4 separate regions of the Homo sapiens genome follow, and all the other regions are linked to region 3. Evidence: promoter capture Hi-C in 16 types of primary human blood cells and fetal thymus (Javierre and others, 2016). All regions are on one chromosome and are shown on one strand. Each heading gives the region's core, a stretch centred on a gene start or on the middle of the fragment in contact. The rest is flanking DNA. Distances are from core to core; before and after follow the strand shown.

Evidence for each region. Contacts are between HindIII fragments. The CHiCAGO score rates a contact against its expected background, and 5 or more counts as called.
Region 1: a contact is called between a fragment that was not itself captured here and the fragment with the promoter of LNCRI in region 3, in 11 of 17 cell types (M2 macrophages, M0 macrophages, erythroblasts and 8 more). The highest score is 12.2, in M2 macrophages.
Region 2: a fragment that was not itself captured here is called in contact with the fragment with the promoter of LNCRI in region 3 in 2 of 17 cell types (M0 macrophages and M2 macrophages); the score reaches 6.7 in M0 macrophages.
Region 4: a fragment that was not itself captured here is called in contact with the fragment with the promoter of LNCRI in region 3 in 4 of 17 cell types (M1 macrophages, M2 macrophages, M0 macrophages and 1 more); the score reaches 8.1 in M1 macrophages.

The regions. Positions count from the first base shown.
Region 1 is chr7:2,197,001-2,199,700 of GRCh38, reverse strand. The region is part of intron 10 of MAD1L1 (mitotic arrest deficient 1 like 1); the gene reads left to right. Among named protein-coding and RNA genes, the nearest start is that of MAD1L1, 35 kb to the left of the region's middle. The HindIII fragment of the contact is 6,509 bases long and covers 1-2,700 here.
Region 2 is chr7:2,131,495-2,134,194 of GRCh38, reverse strand. All of the region lies in intron 11 of MAD1L1 (mitotic arrest deficient 1 like 1), which reads left to right. Among named protein-coding and RNA genes, the nearest start is that of SNORA114, 44 kb to the right of the region's middle. The HindIII fragment of the contact is 3,614 bases long and covers 1-2,700 here.
Region 3 is chr7:1,693,018-1,695,717 of GRCh38, reverse strand. It overlaps LNCRI (lncRNA radiation induced regulator of PLK1 and RAD51), which reads left to right and starts at 1,368. Exons shown (of 4, transcript XR_007060188.1): 1 at 1,368-1,458; 2 at 1,633-2,700. All of the region lies in intron 2 of ELFN1 (extracellular leucine rich repeat and fibronectin type III domain containing 1), which reads right to left. The HindIII fragment of the contact is 12,694 bases long and covers 1-2,700 here.
Region 4 is chr7:2,150,091-2,152,790 of GRCh38, reverse strand. All of the region lies in intron 10 of MAD1L1 (mitotic arrest deficient 1 like 1), which reads left to right. Among named protein-coding and RNA genes, the nearest start is that of SNORA114, 62 kb to the right of the region's middle. The HindIII fragment of the contact is 522 bases long and covers 1,186-1,707 here.

The DNA.
Region 1 (2,700 bases), core at 75-2,574, 500 kb before region 3:
TGCCCGGTGTGTCTGCCTGGCCTGGCCCTCGTCTGGTTTCCGTTGTCTGGGAGGCACCCCTGCCCGTGCCAGGCGGGGCACTGCGGGGGCGCGGATGCGGAGTGGAAGACTGCTGATTTAGGAATCGAAACTCCAGGGACATCCGTGTAGCAGAGTGATTCTAAGATGATTAAGAAAACCATCAATGATTTAAAGAAAGTGTTCACTGCAGTCCTTATTGAGCGGTTTGCCGCGTGCAGGGCATGTGGGGGTGGCGCACCAGGCTGCAGGCGCCCTTCATGACGGCAGGCAGGGGACCTCCTAGGAGTCTTGGCTGTGACACGTGAGGTATGAAGGCCAGAAAGGTGAACGTGTGGAATCTGTGACCCAGAAGTAACAAACTCCTTTCTTGGAGAGCAGTTAGGTATTCCATTCCTTAGTCCATATGCCAACATTTAAAAAGGCCAAAACCAGAGGCCTAGAAAATGTATCTGGAAGTTGCAGTGAGACCGTTTTTGATCATTGTGGCCTTCCTGGGGCTCAGTTTCCTCGCTTTGCAAATGCCATTTTGGCAGGGATCTGCTGTGGGGCATCTCCGTGCAGGTGGAGCTGGAGTTGCGCATCTTTCTCAGGCTGGCATCATACAGGCCCCAGTGCACTCTGGCAGGGAGGGGCAGCCCCCTCCTGGATAGCCCCGCCCAAGGCCGGGAGGACTGTGAAGGGGGGATCCCACTGCCTGACCTCAGCCTGTCGGGCCCCACAGCGCGTCTCTCTGTGGACTGGTCGCCGGCTTCCTGTGGCCTGTGTGTCCTCCGAGTGGCTGGAGCTTTGGAACCCTATTCTGTAGCTTGGAGCTCCTGAGCCTCAAAGGGCAGGGGCCTGGTTCCTTGCCCATCCTTGCCCAGCCTGATGGCCTGTGCTTGTGGACTGTACATGGGCACCTGCTTTAACACCTGGAGGAGTAGGGGCTACCAAGAGCATGTGGCTCTGGGCCTCCCTGGGAGAGTCACTCAGCGGCAGGAGAACTGAGTGGGACACATCAGGGAGTGTCTGTCTCATGGACGCCTGTTGGCCTGCAGCCTGGAGAGGGGGCCTGAAGTGTGTGTTCCATGCTCTTGACCCCCAGGAAGCACTCGCCTCTGTTGAAAGCCTCGTGCCGCAGAGCGCGATTGCTGTCCCGGGTGGACGGCCATCACGGGCTCCTTGCTCCGGCGATGCCAGCGCTCCTGGTGTTGTGTGTGGCTGGCTCCCCCTTGTCTCAGCCCTGGGCTTAGAGCAGGCCAGGTGCTCAGGCAGTGGTTTTGTTGCTTGAAGGGGGGTGTGTACCTGGCTGCAGCCTGTGGAGAGCGTGAGTGGCTGGCAGAAGCAAAGGCGGGCTCTTGGGAGATGAGAGCAGGCAGCCGGCCTGGAGGCTTCCATGGGGCTGGTCAGCTCCTGCTGGCTCTTCCTGGCACAAATCCACGCTGGGCTGGGTGCCTTGGCTCACACCTGTAATCCCAGCACTTTGGGAGCCTGAAGTGGGAGGATCGCTTGAGCCTGGGAGTTCAAGACCAGCCTGGGCAACACTGTGAGACCCTATCTCTATTTTTAAAAATAAAAATATAAAGATAACCCTTCCTCCAAAAAAAAAAAAAAAAACCCAAACTCATGGTGGACCTTGGGATGAGCGGGGGCGCTTGTGGGGCAGAACTGGGTGTGGTTGCCCCGTCCTGGGCCTGTTCCCAGGCCTGCTCTTAGAGGAGGGGCTGATGGGCCCTGTGGGTGCAGGGAGATGGGGTCAGTCACAGGCTGGGGCCTGGGGGCTGGGACCTGGGGGCTGGGACCCGGGGGCTAGGACCAGTTTTGGCTCTCAGGCAGGGAGGGGTTGTGAACTCTGTTTTGGGAATGTGTGTTTGAAGTGTCAGTGATGTAGCCAGAAGGAGGTGTCAGACAGCAGCCGATGTCAGGCCTGCATGGCTCCTAGAGGAGCCCTAGGGCTGGCCTGCCCAGTGAGGGGCAGGGATGAGCCGGCCTAGGGGAGTGGCAGAGCCAGAGGAGCAGACAGCTGGCCCGAGTCTGGAGGGATTTTGGCGTTTGCAGGTGGCTTTGAGCCTGAGGGCCAGTGCCTCACCGGGTCAGAGAGCTCTGCAGCCCGCCAGTCCTGGTCGTGCCTGTGTCCGAGCTTGGGCCCGTGTGCAGGGAGAAGGTGGCTGTGCAGTGCACGTCGTGTGTACCAGGCGTCGGCGGAGTGATGCGTGGGTCGGGGCGGGAGATGAGAGGAGGAGTGAGGAGAGGCTAGAAGCCTCCAGAGCAGTGGGGTTTCTTCCTCTTCTTCACTGGTGAGTGCTTCTTGAACACATAGGTGTGCAGGCCTGGTGCTGGGTGCTGGGGATACAGCTATAAGTCAGGGGCTGTTTTCCAGTCCTCTCAGATCTAGCCGGGCATATGTCTGCTAGGTCAAGCGTGGCTCCTGAAGAGATGACACTTGAGAGGCTGGCAGCATGTTCCAGATAGGGTGGGTGCTGGCAGCACACAGGTTGGCCAGATGCTGCGTGTTCGGACAGTGTTGTGTGGCTCCAGCTGGTTCTAACCACAGTTCTCCTGGGATGTGGCAGAAGCTGGACAGGTTGGCAGGGATCTGTCCTGTCCTGAGGGTGGTTTGGACCGCGTCCTGCAGGTCACAGGAGCCGCAGAAGGTCTTCATCAGGGAGGAGCACATCCGCCAATTGTGAAGGGGCCTCT
Region 2 (2,700 bases), core at 191-2,690, 440 kb before region 3:
AGACCTGATGAAAGAAATCAAAGCCGTAAATCAATGCAGCGGCATTCTATGTTCACGGGTAGGAGGAGTCAATATATTATCAGTTCTCCCCAGAGGGTCTGTGCAGTCCCAGTCAGAATCCCAGCAAGTTATATTTGTGGATATCAACAGATTCTAAAGTTTATATGGGAAGGCAAAAGATGGCAATGGCCAGCACAACACCAGTGAACAACACCGGAAAACTGACACTCCCCGACCTCAAGACTTAGCGTAAAACCACAGTGATCAAGGTGGTGCGCTGTTGATGGAAGAATGGACGAACAGGTCTGTGGAACAGGTCAGAGAGCCACGAGATAGACCCACACAGATATACTCGGCTGATCGTGGACCGCAGAGCAAAGGCAGCTCAGAGGAAAACGGTCTTCTCAGCAAATGGTGCTGGAACAGCGGAACAGCCACAGGGGAAAAATCTAGACACAGACCTTACACCTTCCTCAAAAATCAACTCAGAGTGGATCACATACCTGAGTGTAAAGCACAAAACTTTAAAACTCCTAGAAGATAGCGGCGGAAATATCTAGCTGACTCTCAATTAGGCAGTGACTTTTAACGTACAACACCAAAGGCACAGTCTGAAAGAATTGATGAGATGGACCTCGTTAGAGTTGGAAATGGCTGCTCTGCGAAGGAAACTGTTGAGAATAAAAGGAGAAGCCCCAAATGGAGAAAATATTTTTCACCGTCATGCAAAAGACATATCTGATAAGGGCTGTTATCCAAATTATACAAAGAACTCTTCAAACTCAGTGGTAAGGAAACAGACCACCCAATTAAAAAATGGGTGAGCTCTGAACAGGCGCCTCACCAAAGCAGACACGCGGGTGACGGAGAAGCACGTGCGGAGATGCTCAGCATTGAAAATGGGTGAGCTCTGAACAGGTGCCTCACCAAAGCAGACACGTGGGTGACGGAGAAGCACATGAGGAGATGCTCAGCATTGAAAATGGGTGAGCTCTGAACAGGTGCCTCACCAAAGCAGACACGTGGGTGAAGGAGAAGCACATGAGGAGATGCTCAGCATTGAAAATGGGTGAGCTCTGAACAGGTGCCTCACCAAAGCAGACACGTGGGTGACGGAGAAGCACGTGAGGAGATGCTCAGCATTGAAAATGGGTGAGCTCTGAACAGGCGCCTCACCAAAGCAGACGCAGGAAGGGGGAGAGCAGGGAGACGCCAGGCTCCCTGTAACAATCATCTCTCCTGGTAACTGATGAAGTGAGGACTGCTCTTCAGCATGAGCCGTCATGAGGGACCCACCCCCATGGCCCAAACCCCTCCTCTCAGGTCCTGCTTCCAATCGTGGGGATCAGTTGTCAACCTGAGATTTGGAGGGGTCGGGAACCACACAGTAACAGTGTCCTTCCATGGGTGAATGGATAAAAGATGGTATGTCCATTCACTCAAATACTGTTCTGAGCTAAAAAGAAATGAGCTACCAAGCTGTGAAAAGACGTGGAAGAATCTTAAATATATATTGCACAGTGAAAGAGGACAGTCTGCAAAGGCGGTGTACTGTGGGATTTCTCCTCCGTGGTATTCTGGAAAAGGCAGAACTGTGGACACAGTAAAAAGATCGGTGGTTGCCAGGGATGGACAAGAGGGATGCGCAGGCGGACCCAGAGGATTTTTGGGGAATGAACCTACTCTTCACGCGGCCGTGATGGTGGACACGCAGTCGCACGCAGCAGTGGACCGACTGCACGCGGCCGTGATGGTGGACGCGCGGTCGCACGCAGCAGTGAACCGACTGCACGCGGCCGTGATGGTGGACGCGCGGTCGCACAGGGACTGCAGACATGCGTTCGTCTAAACCCGAGAATGTAAGACATGACAAGTGAGCCCACGTGTCCACTGTGGACTTGGGTTCATCAGTTGTAATGAATGGACTGCAGTCGTGCACGGTGCAGGGGAATCTGCCTGGGGGCTGAAGGGTAGATGAGAACTCTCATTTCTCCTCAGTTTTCCTGTAAACCTATAATTGCTTGAAAAAAGAATATCTGTAAATTTAAAACAAAAATTAGCAAGTAAGATGAGGCTAGAGAGAGCTGTCCCAGGGGTCAGATTGAGACAAAATGCAGTTGGGGCCAGCTTCCTCCTGAGTCAGCCTCACTGACTGCTTGGAGAAGAGAGGGACCACGCTGAGCGTCAGGAGGCAGCGCCGCGGCGGGTCTACGAGGCACATCTTTCACCAGCCTTTCCATTAGAGGCACCTGAGCAGCCCTCCATCATTTCACGTGTGCATGGTCAGGCCCTTGTGGGGGGCTCACAGGACTTGTGTGACTGCCAGTTGCCGAAAGAAGGAAGCAGGTCCCTTGTCATGACCAGAGAGACCCCAGGTGCGATGGCTGTCACATCCTGCTGACCTTCCCAGCCTGAGCCAGCTCGGGCCAGGGTGAGGACAAGGGCTGATGGGGGCTGAAGGGCACAGAGCACCCCTGGGGAGGCGTGTGGGCCTGGGGGACACACCTGAGCTGTCCCTGTTGCTGCTCTCTGGATGAGAACCTGGGGGCCCAGCTGGTGCAGGCACGAATGTTCCAGCACATTTGTGAGGATGAGCTGGGAGGCCTTGAGCAAGGACACCATCAGTGCCTGCGCAGAGGTCCCCTGGGACTGACAAGCTCGTCGGGGAACAGAAGCAGCGCTTTGAATTTTAAATTGGTT
Region 3 (2,700 bases), core at 119-2,618:
GCAGTGCAGTGGCGCGATCTCGGCTCACTGCAACCTCCACCTCCTGGGTTCAAACAATTCTCCCTGCCTCAGCCTCCCAAGTAACTGGGATTACAGGTGTCCACCACAACGCCCGGCTAATTTTTGTATTTTTTAGTAGAGACGGGGTTTCTCCATGTTGGCCAGGCTTGTCTTGAACTCCTGGCCTCAGGTGATCTGCCCGCCTCAGCCTCCCAAAGTGCTGGAATTACAGGTGTGAGTGGCCGCGCACGGCTGCACAGTTTTCAAAGTGGGGTTCATGGGCTTGGCGGGCTGAGTCTGCTCCTGCCTCCCAGCGAGACTCGCCCAGGCTTGTGCCAATGGTCCTGCTCCTGCCCTTTAGGGAGTGCCCTCGACGCGGACACCTGAGCCCTGAGCTGCAGCCCTGGAGGAGGAGGACGCAGCTGGTGCTGGGAAGGGCTGGGAGGCCGGCCACGCACCTGGCACGCTACTACTTCCTGGGGTTCTCAGGCAGGAGCAGGGTCCTGGTGGCCTTCCTGGTGGATGGACAGAACCCTCACAGCCCCAGCGGGCTGCGCATGAGCTCTGGAGCCACAGAGCAGGTCCCACCATGTGCCTGTCGGCCACGTCTGCTGCCTGGCACAGCCACGTGCATCCGGAGCCGTCTGCAGCGTAACTCAAAGTGAGGGGGATGGGCACATGTGCACGACGCCCGACGCCCCTCTGCAGCACTCAACAGGGAGGGCAGGGAGCTGGAATTTGTCCCAGCTGGGCACAGGCTGCTGTTGGCAGCCAGGGTCAGGGAGACTCTCAGAGTCCCCCACTTCTGTGGAACAGACAGTTTCTTTGGTTCTGGAATTAAACTATTAATAGCAGTGGAGATCAAGAAACTCAAGTGCAGGGCAGCTGACAGGTGGTCTCGAATGCACCCTGGAGGGTGTGCAGCCAGCAGCCCTCAGAGTCAGTCTAAGTTTGGCAAAGGACCGCTGTGCGGGCCAGGCATGGTGACAGTGACGTCTTGGTGTCAGGGCCTCCTGTCTCATACCCTCGCTCCTGCAAGGGCCTCTGCACCTGGGCAGGTGGGCGTCTGGGTGCTGGGGGAGCTGACTCCTTCAAGGAGATGGTTTCCTGTCTCAGGGAGGTGGGGGGTACCCCTGGGATCTGCTTCTAGGGGCATAAGCTCCGGCCTATTGAGTGACTGATGGACCAGAGCTCTATCTTTCTAGAAGGCCTGGGAGAAGCCAGGAATCCCCTCCCGGAGCCTCACCCCACTCCTCCCTCCAGCCATCCTCCTCCAGCTCTTTGTGACATCACTGCCGTTGCCATGGGAACCCTGCCAACTGAGCGGATGACTTCACAGGAGGATGGGAGGCGCTGGGCTGGGCCGGCCTGGGTCTCGCAGCAAAGGTCTTTGATAACCAGCAAAACGGCAAAGGGAGGCAGGAAAACCACCCGCAGGGAGGCCAGTGTGGGTTTAAGGTGATGGCATTCCCCAGCCCTGCCCGGCACCGGCCTCCCAAGCCTGGGACCTGGGGGCTCCCTGCCTCCTTCCAGATGGAGGTGGGCATGGTGGAGTGTGAGGGGCCTGGGTCTGCCGGGGCTGGCTGGGGAACCCTGGCTGGAGCTGCTTCAAGCCTCGGTTTCTCTTTCTAGGAAGTGAGACCAGGACCACAGACTGGGCGCTCCCTGCTGAGTCTGTGGCCCTGAAGGCTGTTCAGCTCTAAGCGTCGGTGCACGGACAGGCCAGACAGGGCTGTATTGCTCCAATCGCCCTGCAAGAATCACAGCCAGACGGGGGCTTCCCGAGTGCTGCCCACCTTGCCGGCACGCAGGAGGAGGTGGCATGGACTGGGGAGGAGGAAGCACTCTCACTCCTGCTGGAGCCTCTGCCCAGGAACCCCGATTGGCCCAGCCGTCCCTGGGGAGGCCCATCCCACGTGTCCCGCACCCCGTGTCTGTCAGCACTGATCAGGGTCTCCCAGACACCTGCTCTGGGGTTGCCATGGGGACGAGCGGGAGGGTGAGTGTGGCGCACACAGCTGTCTGTAGACACACAGAGGGCATGCACGCATGTGTCTGTGCTCACCTGCATGTGTTCACACGGACTGGGCACCGCCGGAGGTGTTCACACAGCGGTGTACACCGACCCCTCTGCAGATGTGCACACACCCAGCAAGGCTACGTCCACAGGCGTGTATGTGTTCTTGCACCAGGAAGTGGGTCACGCCCCACACCACACATCGTATACTCTGTCCCTGCGGCACGCACCTGTCTGGGTGCACCAGGCAGTCTAAGCCCATGTCACCTATGTGTACACATATGTGCACATACCTACTCAGGCACACCAGTGTGTGTACACGGCTGTCCAGGCACACTGGGCAGTCCAAGCCCACGCCTGCCCAGACTCTTGGAATCGGGCACTTTCTGAGGCTGCCCCGATGGGCGTTCCTTTCCCCAGCCAGTACATCCTCTCTTCCTAACCCCACGTCTGCTGGACTCTTAAGGTGTCCACGCGGCCATGAACATCTCCAGGGCCTGCACTGCCCACTACCAGGACCCCAGCGGAACCCAGCATCTGGTCACTAGGGGTCTGCATGGGCAGTCACTTCCTGGGGGCCTGCACCCCTTAAGGAGGGTGAAGGACGGGCCAGCCCAGCTGGGGCTGAATCCTCACAGCCTTGTTCACAGGGAGAGGCTGACCTGCGCCCATTTTACAGACAA
Region 4 (2,700 bases), core at 197-2,696, 460 kb before region 3:
CACATCCATAAAGTTAACGGCATAGGGATTGTCAGGTAATAGCAGTGCACTGTACCTGTGCCGTAGGGTTTTGGAAGTGAGCCTTAGGAAGCCCAGCCGAGCAGGTAGGGAGTTGAGCCTGGAGGGGTCAGGGCTGGGGCTGAGACCCAGGTTTTCTCCCATGGGTCCATCTCCTTTTCCTTTAAGGATGTCCTGGCCTTCCCTCTGTCTCTGCAAGTAGAGTAGACTGGTCCCGTGTGACGTTCTTGAAGGCTGTCATCGAGCTCACTGTGCTTGTGCTTTTGAGTGGAAGCTGAACCCTGGTCATGAGCAAGAATGGCCAGACAGGGCTCGTGAGGCTTGGTTTAGCCAAAGTGGTGACTGCGGGTTTTTCAGCGCAAGAGGCTGCGAAGGGAGGGATTCCTTCTGGTGCCCCTGTGCCCTCCAGCGGCTTCTGCCCGTGGGAGGTGTTGGGCACGGCTGCCCCTGTGGTTGGAGGGCTCTGGAATAGCAAGCCCTGCAGCTTCAGTCCTCCCTATGATGGGGGCCTGGTCGCATGGGGACTGAGAGCCGGCAGGGATCTGGGGGCCTAGGGATGTGGCCAGCAAGTATCCAGGCTGAGAGCCCATCACGTGACAGTGCTCCCGAGGGCTGGGGTCTGTGTGGGACCATCCGCCTCAGGCGCCAGCCTTCTGCCTCAGGGCAAGCCATGCTCTCTGTTCCTGCCTGGGGCAGGACAACTCCAGGTCACACCCACCTCAGGCAAGGAGGAGCGTGCAGGGGAGCCACCCGGAAGCAGCCTCCTGCAGAGTCGGTGGGAATGTGGAGAGCCAGCCTGCTCCTTGGGTGATGGAGATGGATGCCCCGGGGCTCCAGAGTACTCAGGTTTCTCCTGTGGCCCATCAGTGCCAGAATGAGGCGTTGACCCCATGACATGAGACAGAGGCCTTCCTGGGTGACGTAGGAGACTGCCTGGTGCGTGTGCCATCTGTGGGCGCCCAGCACTTCAGAAGAGAGCTCTGTCACTGTCACTTTTCAGTTGATTTGAACCACTCCCATTTCCCCCCTCATTGCTAAATGGTTGCATTTATCATGGTCTTGGCATCACTGGGAATCGCAGAACATGGTTAGCAGAGCCTGGCCCTCTGAGATCTTACCCCAGCTCCCAGCTTTGCTGGGTGGGTTCGTACCTTGGGGCAAGAAGCTTGTTTCTAAATCGGTGTCAAATGCTCCTGACCCTGCCTTCTGCTCTGCAGGCTGCAGGGAGGCTTCCCCACAGAGGGAGGTGGCAGGCAGTGTGCCCTCTGGTGAGAGAGAACCATCCCAGCTGGGAGAACCCTGGGGCCTGGTACTGCCTGCCAAATGCCTCTCCACTGGCCTCCTGCTGTTTCAGGTCCAGTGACATGTGAGGTCCCTGAGGGGTGTGAGGCGGGGTGGTCTTGGCTGTGTAGGTGGAGCCTGTAGCCTGCCGCCTGTGACCACCCCACCTGCCGCTGGTTCTGGGCACAGGGGCTGGGAGGCGCCGTTGCAGATGTGGATATATGCGATTTTTATTTATTTGTTGTAAATAAATTCTTTGCACTGAGTTAGTGAAAATTTACAAGCCCCTTTGATTAATGCAAAACAACTTAAATATCTCATTCAAATGTTTCAGAAAAAATATCTCTTGGCTTGGAAAGGTTTCCTTACTTTCGTACTGATATTTTTAACTCCCTGAGGTTGGAAGCTTTGGGAAACTGGAGAGAATGGTCACGGCGTTCAAGGGCAGCTGCACCTTTCATCTCTGTCCTAGAGTTCAGTTTCTCTTCCAAGGTCTTTCAGTCATAAATGGTTTTTCCACGGAGCTGCTTTCTAACCCCGGTTTGCCTGTGTGTGTGAGGACAGATGGGGTCTCCCCGGTGCCAGCTACTCCTTCTGCACCCATCGCTGTCCCCACTAGATGTTCAGCAAGGGGCCTGTTCTTTGGGTGGGCAGAGGAGGCCTCTCTGGGGGACGTGGAAGGGAGAAGGCCGTGGCGTGCTCTGTGTGAATTGGCTGTGGTCAGAGGGAGGGCTTATGACCAGCCCTGGGTGTGTGTGAGGGCTCAGGGCCTGGGCCAGGCCGCAGGACATCTGCTCACAGGCTCTTGGTAGCTTTGTTCCAGTGATGGAAGACACTCCAGAAACACCAAACTAATGCTGGGCAAGGCGGCCTCCAGCTGTCCTCTGTGCCGTGCAAAACAGGCATGGGATGGCGAGGGGCGTGGGGGTGGCCAGAGACACTGTAAGGAAGTGGCCCTTCCTCTGTTTGGAGGAGGAGCTGGGTGCTGGAAGACCGGGGGAGGGGCTGTGTGAGCGCTGGATGAGCTGATGAGGGTTTCGGGGGCCCATGGGTAGGGTGCTCAAGTGACAGGAAAGGTCAGTGGCTGTCTCAGGGCAGAGTCTGGTCGGGCCCAGTGCGTGAGGTTTGCAGCGTGCGCGTTTTAGGCAGCAGGATGGCTTCTGTTAGGGGTCCGTGGTTGCAGTGTGCCTCTCCGTGGCCGTGGCTGACTCGCAGAGAGGAGCTCCCGGGCAGGCTGCTGGGAGGGTGTGCCCGGGATCCACCCGAGGCTGCTCTGGGGGCCTGGCTGACAGAGTGACTGGGACCTCTCCTTCCAGGGGTGCAGGTAGCCTCCTTGGCCAATGTCGGGGTCCCCGTTGCTCATTCAGTGGTGCGGTGCGGGCTCCCTGAGTGGGGCTGGGT